Linked DNA regions of Homo sapiens: region 1 is linked to region 2. The links are contacts of gene promoters, found by promoter capture Hi-C in human tissues and cell types (Jung and others, 2019). All regions are on one chromosome and are shown on one strand. Each heading gives the region's core, a stretch centred on a gene start or on the middle of the fragment in contact. The rest is flanking DNA. Distances are from core to core; before and after follow the strand shown.

The links. Contacts are between HindIII fragments. The study calls those that stand out against the background at their distance.
Region 1: a contact is called between a fragment that was not itself captured here and the fragment with the promoter of SLC25A52 in region 2, in 1 of the 25 tissues and cell types used here (dorsolateral prefrontal cortex).

The regions. Positions count from the first base shown.
Region 1 is chr18:29,823,098-29,827,204 of GRCh38, forward strand. No RefSeq gene overlaps it. Among named protein-coding and RNA genes, the nearest start is that of MIR302F, 470 kb to the right of the region's middle. The HindIII fragment of the contact is 3,507 bases long and covers 865-4,107 here.
Region 2 is chr18:31,758,968-31,763,137 of GRCh38, forward strand. SLC25A52 (solute carrier family 25 member 52) reads right to left here and starts at 1,913. Exons shown (of 1, transcript NM_001034172.4): 1 at 617-1,913. The coding sequence starts at 1,694. The coding sequence ends at 801. The HindIII fragment of the contact is 6,307 bases long and covers 1-3,690 here.

The sequences.
Region 1 (4,107 bases), core at 1,368-3,867, 1.9 Mb before region 2:
TGTTTCCTATCAGTTTGTATGGAATAAAAAAATTATGATGAGGCACTACACTGAAAACTCATTCTCTTGAAACGGTAGTACACTGGCAACAAATACATTGGATGCACTATAGATATAAACTCTTTAGTTGTTTTTATGAATCATCTGTCATAGAATCTGATGATATATAATACTTAGTCCTTTAAAGGCTAATAGCATTTCTGTGATGGACTTTATATGTTTCAAAGACTTTCACATGTATTGAAACAGCATCTTGATATAGACAAGAAAGACTAGGGAGATGAAATGGTCCTGAGTCAACCAATACAGAAACAGAAACAACGGCTACAAACACATAACTCAAGCACAAGTACTTTTTTTTGTAAGGTATCAGATATAAAGATTCAATGTCAAATGAAATTTTTAAAATTAGGTTTGTGTGCCTTCCCATAGAATAAATAAAGTAGATCATGGTGAGTGGAAGCTGAGAAGAAAACAAGTGGACGGTAGAGCATGAGTTTACAAAGCTACCAGATTCTGTTGGATCACATTTTGGTTTTCTCCAGCAGGGTGTAGCTGTGTGGAAGTTGGGTCAACCTTGTCAATATCAGCTGGAAATACAAACATATTTATGATAATAATGGAGTGACTCTTATCTATGGATCTATTTAGAAACACCTCTGCCCCAATGAGTCCTTTCTACCCAGTGCAGAGAATCTTTAGCACATACATAATGAGATCTCCAACAATATAGAAGATATGACTACCTTAAGGAGTGGATTTGGCTTGTGTCATAGCTGAGCTGAGTCATCAGAGGAGTATGACAACCTGTTCCTTTATCCACCCTTCACAGGCTACCCAAACTTACTTTCTAAGTGTCTTCTCATTAGATGCATTCATTCTGATCTCACTTTCACATGTGGAGTTTTGAGAAAGGCTTTGCTTTTAACTTCTCCATGATTTTCAACACACTATATACGTAAAAGGTAGCCTGGGTGTTGCGTTTACTTTTAGCATTTAAGGGCTGGCATTTTCCTTATCTCTCCTTTCATTATAGTTTGATTATTCTGTTATGGCACTCTTCTCAATGTATAGTAATTGTGTGTTTAATGTATATATCTCTTCCACTAGCCTGTGTGTTCAGCTCCAGAGTGATTAAACATGGCATATATTCTCATATTCAGTTCCACAATAGGCATAGCAAAGCTAGCCATGTCATGGGAGATGAGACCTGTTTAACTGAATTTCCTAAGACATATTTTTTTTTCTCCACCATTATGACCACATACCTTTGTTCTGCTCTTTGGCATTCTGATTCCTTTTATGAATTCACAATAATTGGGCAAATTTGATAACCCATTTGCCTTCTTTTACATTTGTTTACTCAGTTAGGTTCTAGTAAAATTTTGTTATTTGTGTTCCTTTTATTTCAATATCTTCTGTTCCAATTCTGAAACCCTTATTATTTTTCTCTGTTATCTGGTCTCATATCTTTAGCGAATATTTGGCACTTTAATGATGAGATAAGATTAAAATTTGAAATTAATCAGTAAAAGTAGCTGGCATATATCTGTGTTCAGTAAATACTGAATATAAAAATTAGCAAATGATTTAAGGTAGTGTAATTCATTTTTGGTAAGCCAAAATTACAAGCAAATCCTCCATACTTCCGGACTTAAGTGCGTTCTACTAGATTATAAAGTAACAATAAATAAAAAAATCAATAAATTATAATTACTCAATAAAATCCTAGCACATTCATTCACAAACATCAGTATCCTCAATAGGCCAATTAGCTCTAGACTAGCCAAATCTTTGTGGAACACAGAGACATATGAGAATGTATTTCTTTTCTTTCCTCTTTCTGCATCAAATTACATTTCAACGTAAAAGAAAACACTTAACAAATTCACTTGCCAAGCTTTTTCTAGCTTTTTTTTTTTCACAAGAAGTGGTTAATTTTACATCTAAATTGCATCACATTTCTCTCTTATGTACTACCTAATGAGTGGTTTGGACCGTATCGTTTGAAAGCATCATAAGTCAAATTTCAACCTAAGTGCAGAATAGTCTTACATTTTTTACTGAAAGAAGATAAAAAGTATTATGGCCAAATCTTCCAAAGTAGGCAAAGATACAAATTTTCAGACATTGCGTAAATGCCAGACTTAGATTGATTTTTGCTTTTTTAATATTCAATTATCCCTTAAGTGAAGATCAACAGCCAAAACTTGTCTTTAGCTTTCTTCTTTTACCCTGGTTTGTTCCTAATGCTTTGGAATTGATGTGTGATGTATTTTGAGTTCTTGAAAGATTTCTTCAAACTATGTACTTGTATATTATAAAGTTTAAATAGAATTTTTTTATTTAATGACCATGCTTAATGTACAAAACATTCCAAAGCTTAAAATGTATGTCTTTATTTCCTCCCATCCACTGTCCTACTCTTTACCCTATCCACTATACATTACTTATCCCTGATAATACAAAAATATATAGGTGGCTAGTGTTTGCATCTATTGTCTTTACTTAAGAACTGATGTTGTTTCTTTACATTCACTTTTTGCTCTTCCTCTTGCTTCTGGTATTTATCTGTGTAATGTACAAGTCCAAAACAGTAACATACATACCTACATACCCAGCTGACAACCACAACTTGCAACAACTTTCCTCTTATACAGACAGTCTAGTTCATTTAGGCTAAGATATTTTAGAATGCTCACTGTGTCATCCCTTCCAGATATTTTTATCAACTATAAAATCTCAATCAAGGAAATTATGTCTGCATAAAATTAATTTCTTTGTTTAACTTAAACAAATTAAAATTGACACTGAGCCCTCATTCTATTGAATTGGTAAAAATTTAACCTCAAGGATCACCTGGGCTACCCTAGGCTTTTTTCTCTAGAGTCCCAGGTGAATGAAGTAGGCTTTACAGAGAGCCTAAAGTGGGTAGTGGAAGGAGGAGGGAATTTTCTAATCTCTATTCTATTGTGCTCTGTACTGTCATCCCCATCAGGGAGTTTGTCATTTTCTCAGGTACCGTCATAACTATCTGCACACTTTTCCGTGTGCTGGGATCCACAGACTTGTAAAAAGACCAAAGGACTTGTATGCTTTCTCTGGTGATGGAATAATCTGAAACTAGTGCTTTGTTCTTATTTTTGCTGTCAACAGTAAAATGATTTTCATCTCAGGAAGACTACAGCAAAAAAGTAAATATCCTTTTTCAGAAACGTGTAGATGTTTTTGTTTGTGTATTTATTTATTTATGTATTTGAGACAGAGTCTTACTCTGTTGCCCTGGAGTGCAGTGGTGGGATTGAGGCTTACTACAACCTCTGCCTCACAGGTTGAAGCGATTCTTCTGCCTCAGCCTCCCGAGTAGCTGGGACTACAGGCGTGCAACACCACACTAAGCTAATTTTTGTATTTTTAGTAGAGACGGAGTTTCACCATGTTGGCCAGGCTGGTCTCAAACTCCTGACCTCAAGTGATTCGTCCACCTCAGCCTCCCAAAGTACTGGGATTACAGGCATGAGCCATTGTGCCTGGCCAATTTTTGCCCTTGTTGATTTGAAATCTTCCTGGTAAAATGTGTTTGGAGGTTTTAAAATGTTGTCTGTCAAAAAGTGAGTAGTGGCATAGTGAATAAAATGACTTTGGGTCCCAGTTTATAGTTACGGTGGAATAACTGTGATTCGACTAACCTACTTTTTTGATGACAACAATTATAAACCCCAAACTAAAAAGTAAAAAATAAAAGAACATAAAACAAAAACACATTTCTGAAGGCACCAGAAAGGGACCACAAGCAGCAGACCCTGGAGGGAACATGACTCTTGAGAGAAGGTAAACGTTATGGGTGAAATCCACATTCATGCAGCTTTTTTCTGAAAGCATTCTCCTATTTTCAGAGTGTTTCAGAGTTAAGGCTCAAGCAGAAAGCAACATTCACTTTGACTGAGCATCAGAGATTGGAGTTTGAGGGTGCAAGATTAATTGGAGAGTAGAGCCACAAAGGTGGAAGTCCCAGAATCTGCATAGTAACAAATTGCACACCCTTGTCAACATCTGAACCATAATCTTACAGGGAAAGTTTCCAAGAAAATTGAGCAAATACTATCG
Region 2 (4,170 bases), core at 663-3,162:
TGGAACACCTATAACAAAATTTAAGTCCCTTCATCTTTCAGCAATGAAATAAGTGAAATTAACATAAGAATATTTTGGAAGGGTTGAGGGTCACAGTCAGAATCAAACAGAAAACTTTCAAACCTAGAAAGCAAAACGGGAACTTTCATAGCTCCTTGATCTACCATATCTAAATAGAAATAGTATAATGACTATCCAATAGGTGATTAGTTTCAAAACTAATACAAGCAATGTATCATGAAAAGCCTCTACATAACAAGCTGTTTTTCTTCTCTGTTCTGCCCCTTTGTCATATGCTTGAGCTTAATGAAGACTATCCTCTGCAGCTGCTCCTGAGGGCACAGAAGAAAGCAATGGAGTAACAAAGGAAGCCTGAGGAGCCCCTGGCCCCTGAGGACCTTCTCTCTGGCCGGTCATAGCAACTTATGTTTTAATGCAGGAGATTTCAAGACTGGTTTGAGAAAAAGAATCTTATCTTGGGGATTAGGTTCCCTGTCAAAGGCCATCAGATGGACAGCTATTTACCAGGCAATTAGCCTAAAGCTCTTAGGTAATGATAAAAAAAAAAAAAAAAGAAAGAAAGAAAAAGAAAACAAAACAAAAAAAAACCCTTACATTTTCCTATTGGAACCTTTTATTCTGTTTTGTTGATGCTTAAGGAAAACAGCTTTGCCCGTAACTCACTGTGGCCTGGAGTTATGACACGAACTTGTATTTGGCCAATTAAGAAAGAGGCCAAACTGCATTCTTCTTAGAAGGTCTATTCAGTTGATAAATGGCACTTAACTGATGGTTTTTTTTCATATAAATTTTAACAAGAACTCATAAGTTGCATTGATTATGCCCCAAGAGATGAGGGACCGATGGTAATTCAGATGGGCACCTCTGAAAAGATTTATCAGTTTTCTGTCCCGTTCCAGCCAGATTTTTTGGAAAACCTTGGGGAAAGACTGAAATTCCCCACCAATCTGAGACTGTAGGCGAGTTTTTACAACATTAATTGGAAAACACAAGAATCCCAACATGGCACCCAATAGACCTCCACCGATAAAATCATTGACCAAATGAGCACTGTGAGTCGTTGCGGTAGGCAGATGCTCCTTAATGGGACCTCGAAGGCCGAAAAACAAGACATTGCTGAGTCCATTCCGGAAAAGAATGGGCACCAAGCCTCGATAATACTCTCCAATTCCATGACATTTCAGTGCCTTGAAAGCCTGATAAGTGTTGGTAAATTTGTCATGATGCTTGTGGTTTTGAAGCAATGTCTGAACTCTTTCCAGTGGAGTGAAAATTGCTTCTGCTGTCCCTGCAAGCACTGCCGCCACGCCATGGGTTGCAAACTCTGGAGCACGGACATGCTTCCGGAGAAGGCAGGATAAATCCTCATACAGACCAAACATAAGTGCAAGCGTAGTTGTCTTCTGCATCAATGGGGGAAGGATTCCACGATACAAATTTCGAAATCCATCCCTTCTCAACTGAAGTACTGCATCCCGGGTTTTGATGCCATACAGCTGTTGCCGAAAGAGGACCTTCTGAATGGGATATGTGATTGCGACGTTGTTGAAGGCTGCACAGCAGCCACACAAGTAATGCTTCATTTCACCAACATTTGTAATATGAGGTGATATATCTTGTTTTGAAGATGTAAGTATTGGTGGCCTCTTTTCATGAGCTTCTGAATCTATCATGTTGCTTAAGATCTTTCTCATGAAGGGCATTTTTTAACCTGTGACATCATCTGAGCCTGGAGTTTGGCAGGATGATAGCTTTGTGATAATGTTCCCAATTTCTTCCATTGTTATTGTTCTGTTAGGTTCTCTCTTCCCGAGTCCATTTTGATAACTGGATTTCCGTTCTCCAGGCGTCCATTTCCCCAACCCATCGCCGCCGGCGCCCCGCAGGACTGCGAGCAAGCCGGGACCTGCGCAGGCGCAGACCATGACCGACCCCGGGGCGGGGGCGCAGCGTGACGCTCTGGGCGCCGCTGGGATCCGAGAAGAAACCCTTTTAAAGCAAGCATGGCAATTTCTTCTAAATAAGCTGGATAAAATTAAAAACTCATTCATCCAAAGATCCTAAAAAATCAACAAATTCCTAAATATTAAATGGTATAGACACAAGTGTTTCTTAAATCACATAACCTTCTCCACGGACACTGTGAAGATGTGTTGCCAGTGGCTTCCCTAAGAGACTGTGAAACTTTTTAAATAGTGTATACATACAAGAAAAGTGGATTTTAGTGTAATCTTGCAGAAGAACAAAACAAACATGGTATCTAAGAGTACAAAGGCACAAAAGTTGAAATTTCATAGTCACTCAGGCCTTGGAGTACTGTATTTTCTTGAAAGGGAAAAAAGTAGGCCAGGTGCAGTGGTTCACACCTGTAATCCCAGCACCTTGGGAGGCCAAAACGGGAGGATCGCTTGAGGCTAGGAATTTGAGACCAGCCTGGGCAACATAGCAAGACCCCTGTCTCTACCCAAAAAAAGAAAAAAGAAAAGAAAGAAAAAAGTAGGTGGTAAGGAGAAGTAAGGAGAAGATGAATTTTTTTTTTAAAAAAAGTTCTGTATACCACATGAAATTTTACTGGGAGGAAAGTGTCTGAGGTTTTAAGAGGCATAAATTAAATAACCTTGAAACCCATTTTGCTCTAGGACTACCCATGTGTTTTCTAGAGTAACCAATGTGTATATTCCATGTATGTGAATGAGAGATGAAAGGAAACAAAAATAACTTCCCTTCCAGGAACAGTGGAAGGCTTCAGCCAACAAAGTAGGTCACAGCATCAGACTACATTGCCTGCTGATGTGTACTGCCTAGTTTTTGAATAGAATCAAATGACAGCTTCCTTGAGATTAAATGACAGTTTCCCTGACCATCATCTTAAAGCACGCCTATGGTGGATCGCTCTAGAATGAACCATAAACCCGAAGTTCTCTTTAAGCTTTAGTGAAACGAAATAGTAAAAGCTTTTCACGGAAAGAGAAGGGAGTCTCCAACATTTATACTGATTGATTTTGGCAGCAATGACTTTCATTAGAAATGTAATTGCTGGGTATGCAAAAATTAGCACTGTTGGGGCTAGAGAGATCTTTGTTTTCCTTTCTTTTGTTTTGTTTTGCTTTTTTGCCTAATATTGATAGTGTTTTCTCGGTTTTGCCATAGCCCTTCTGTCAAGATGCTGGCAATCAGTATATCATGAAAAACAGACTGCCCTTTCTCGCATTTATTGAAGAGAGATTCTCATGATCCTATGGTAAGATAACAATTGCTTTTTTTCAATCCATCCTCCACACTGCAGCCAAAGCAGTCATCTTAGTAACAAACGTGAGCACGTTTTCCCTCACTTAAATCTTTAAATGATTTTACACCTGAAGGACAAAGGTCCCCCATGGTCTGACGTTTTCCTACCCTTGGCGCCATCTGCCTTCACATTTCTAAAGGCACCTTCCGTCCCCGCCATATCAAACTACTCGGGGTCTCCAGAATGAAGAATAATGTGCCATCTGACACTCCTTTGTCTTTATTCGGTTATTGCCTCTGCCTGAAATGTCCTTACTTCTAGTTCCTACTCAGCTTCTGGAAGCCTTCGCTAACTCCTTAGTCCAAATGAGGACCCCTTCTCCACAACACACCCTATACACACTGTGAGTGTGGCACGTGTCACACTGTACAATGTCCACGATTCACAATGCTGAGGGCTTCTTGAAGACACAGTCCACTTCTCATTGAACTTTATTCCAGTTTGTGTCCCCAGTGTCCAGGCATCTGGTTAGGTCTCCAACTGCTTAAGAGTGTAAAGAGTGTTGATGAGTTCTGTATTACTCATGGGTCTTGGTTATAAGAGCCAAAAATACCATTCCAACTGAAGCAAGCAAATCTAGGGGGTAAGGAAAGGAGAAGGAAGAAGGAAGATGAGAAGGAGGTAAGAAATCAGGAAAGGATTTAAAAAGGTGGCATCTGGGCAACATTTAAGGCAATTTTCCAGCTTCTCTCATTTGCACCAGTAGGAGTGGGCCATGTGGCCACAGAGGAGAACATTTCCGAATACCCTTCTGGATCCTGCTGATTTTGGGGGGTACTTACCTCCTTCTGTCCTCAGCACCCAAGTGCCAGATGAGGCAAGTGAATTCCTTTGCAAGAGAGGAAAGAAAGGCAGTTTCA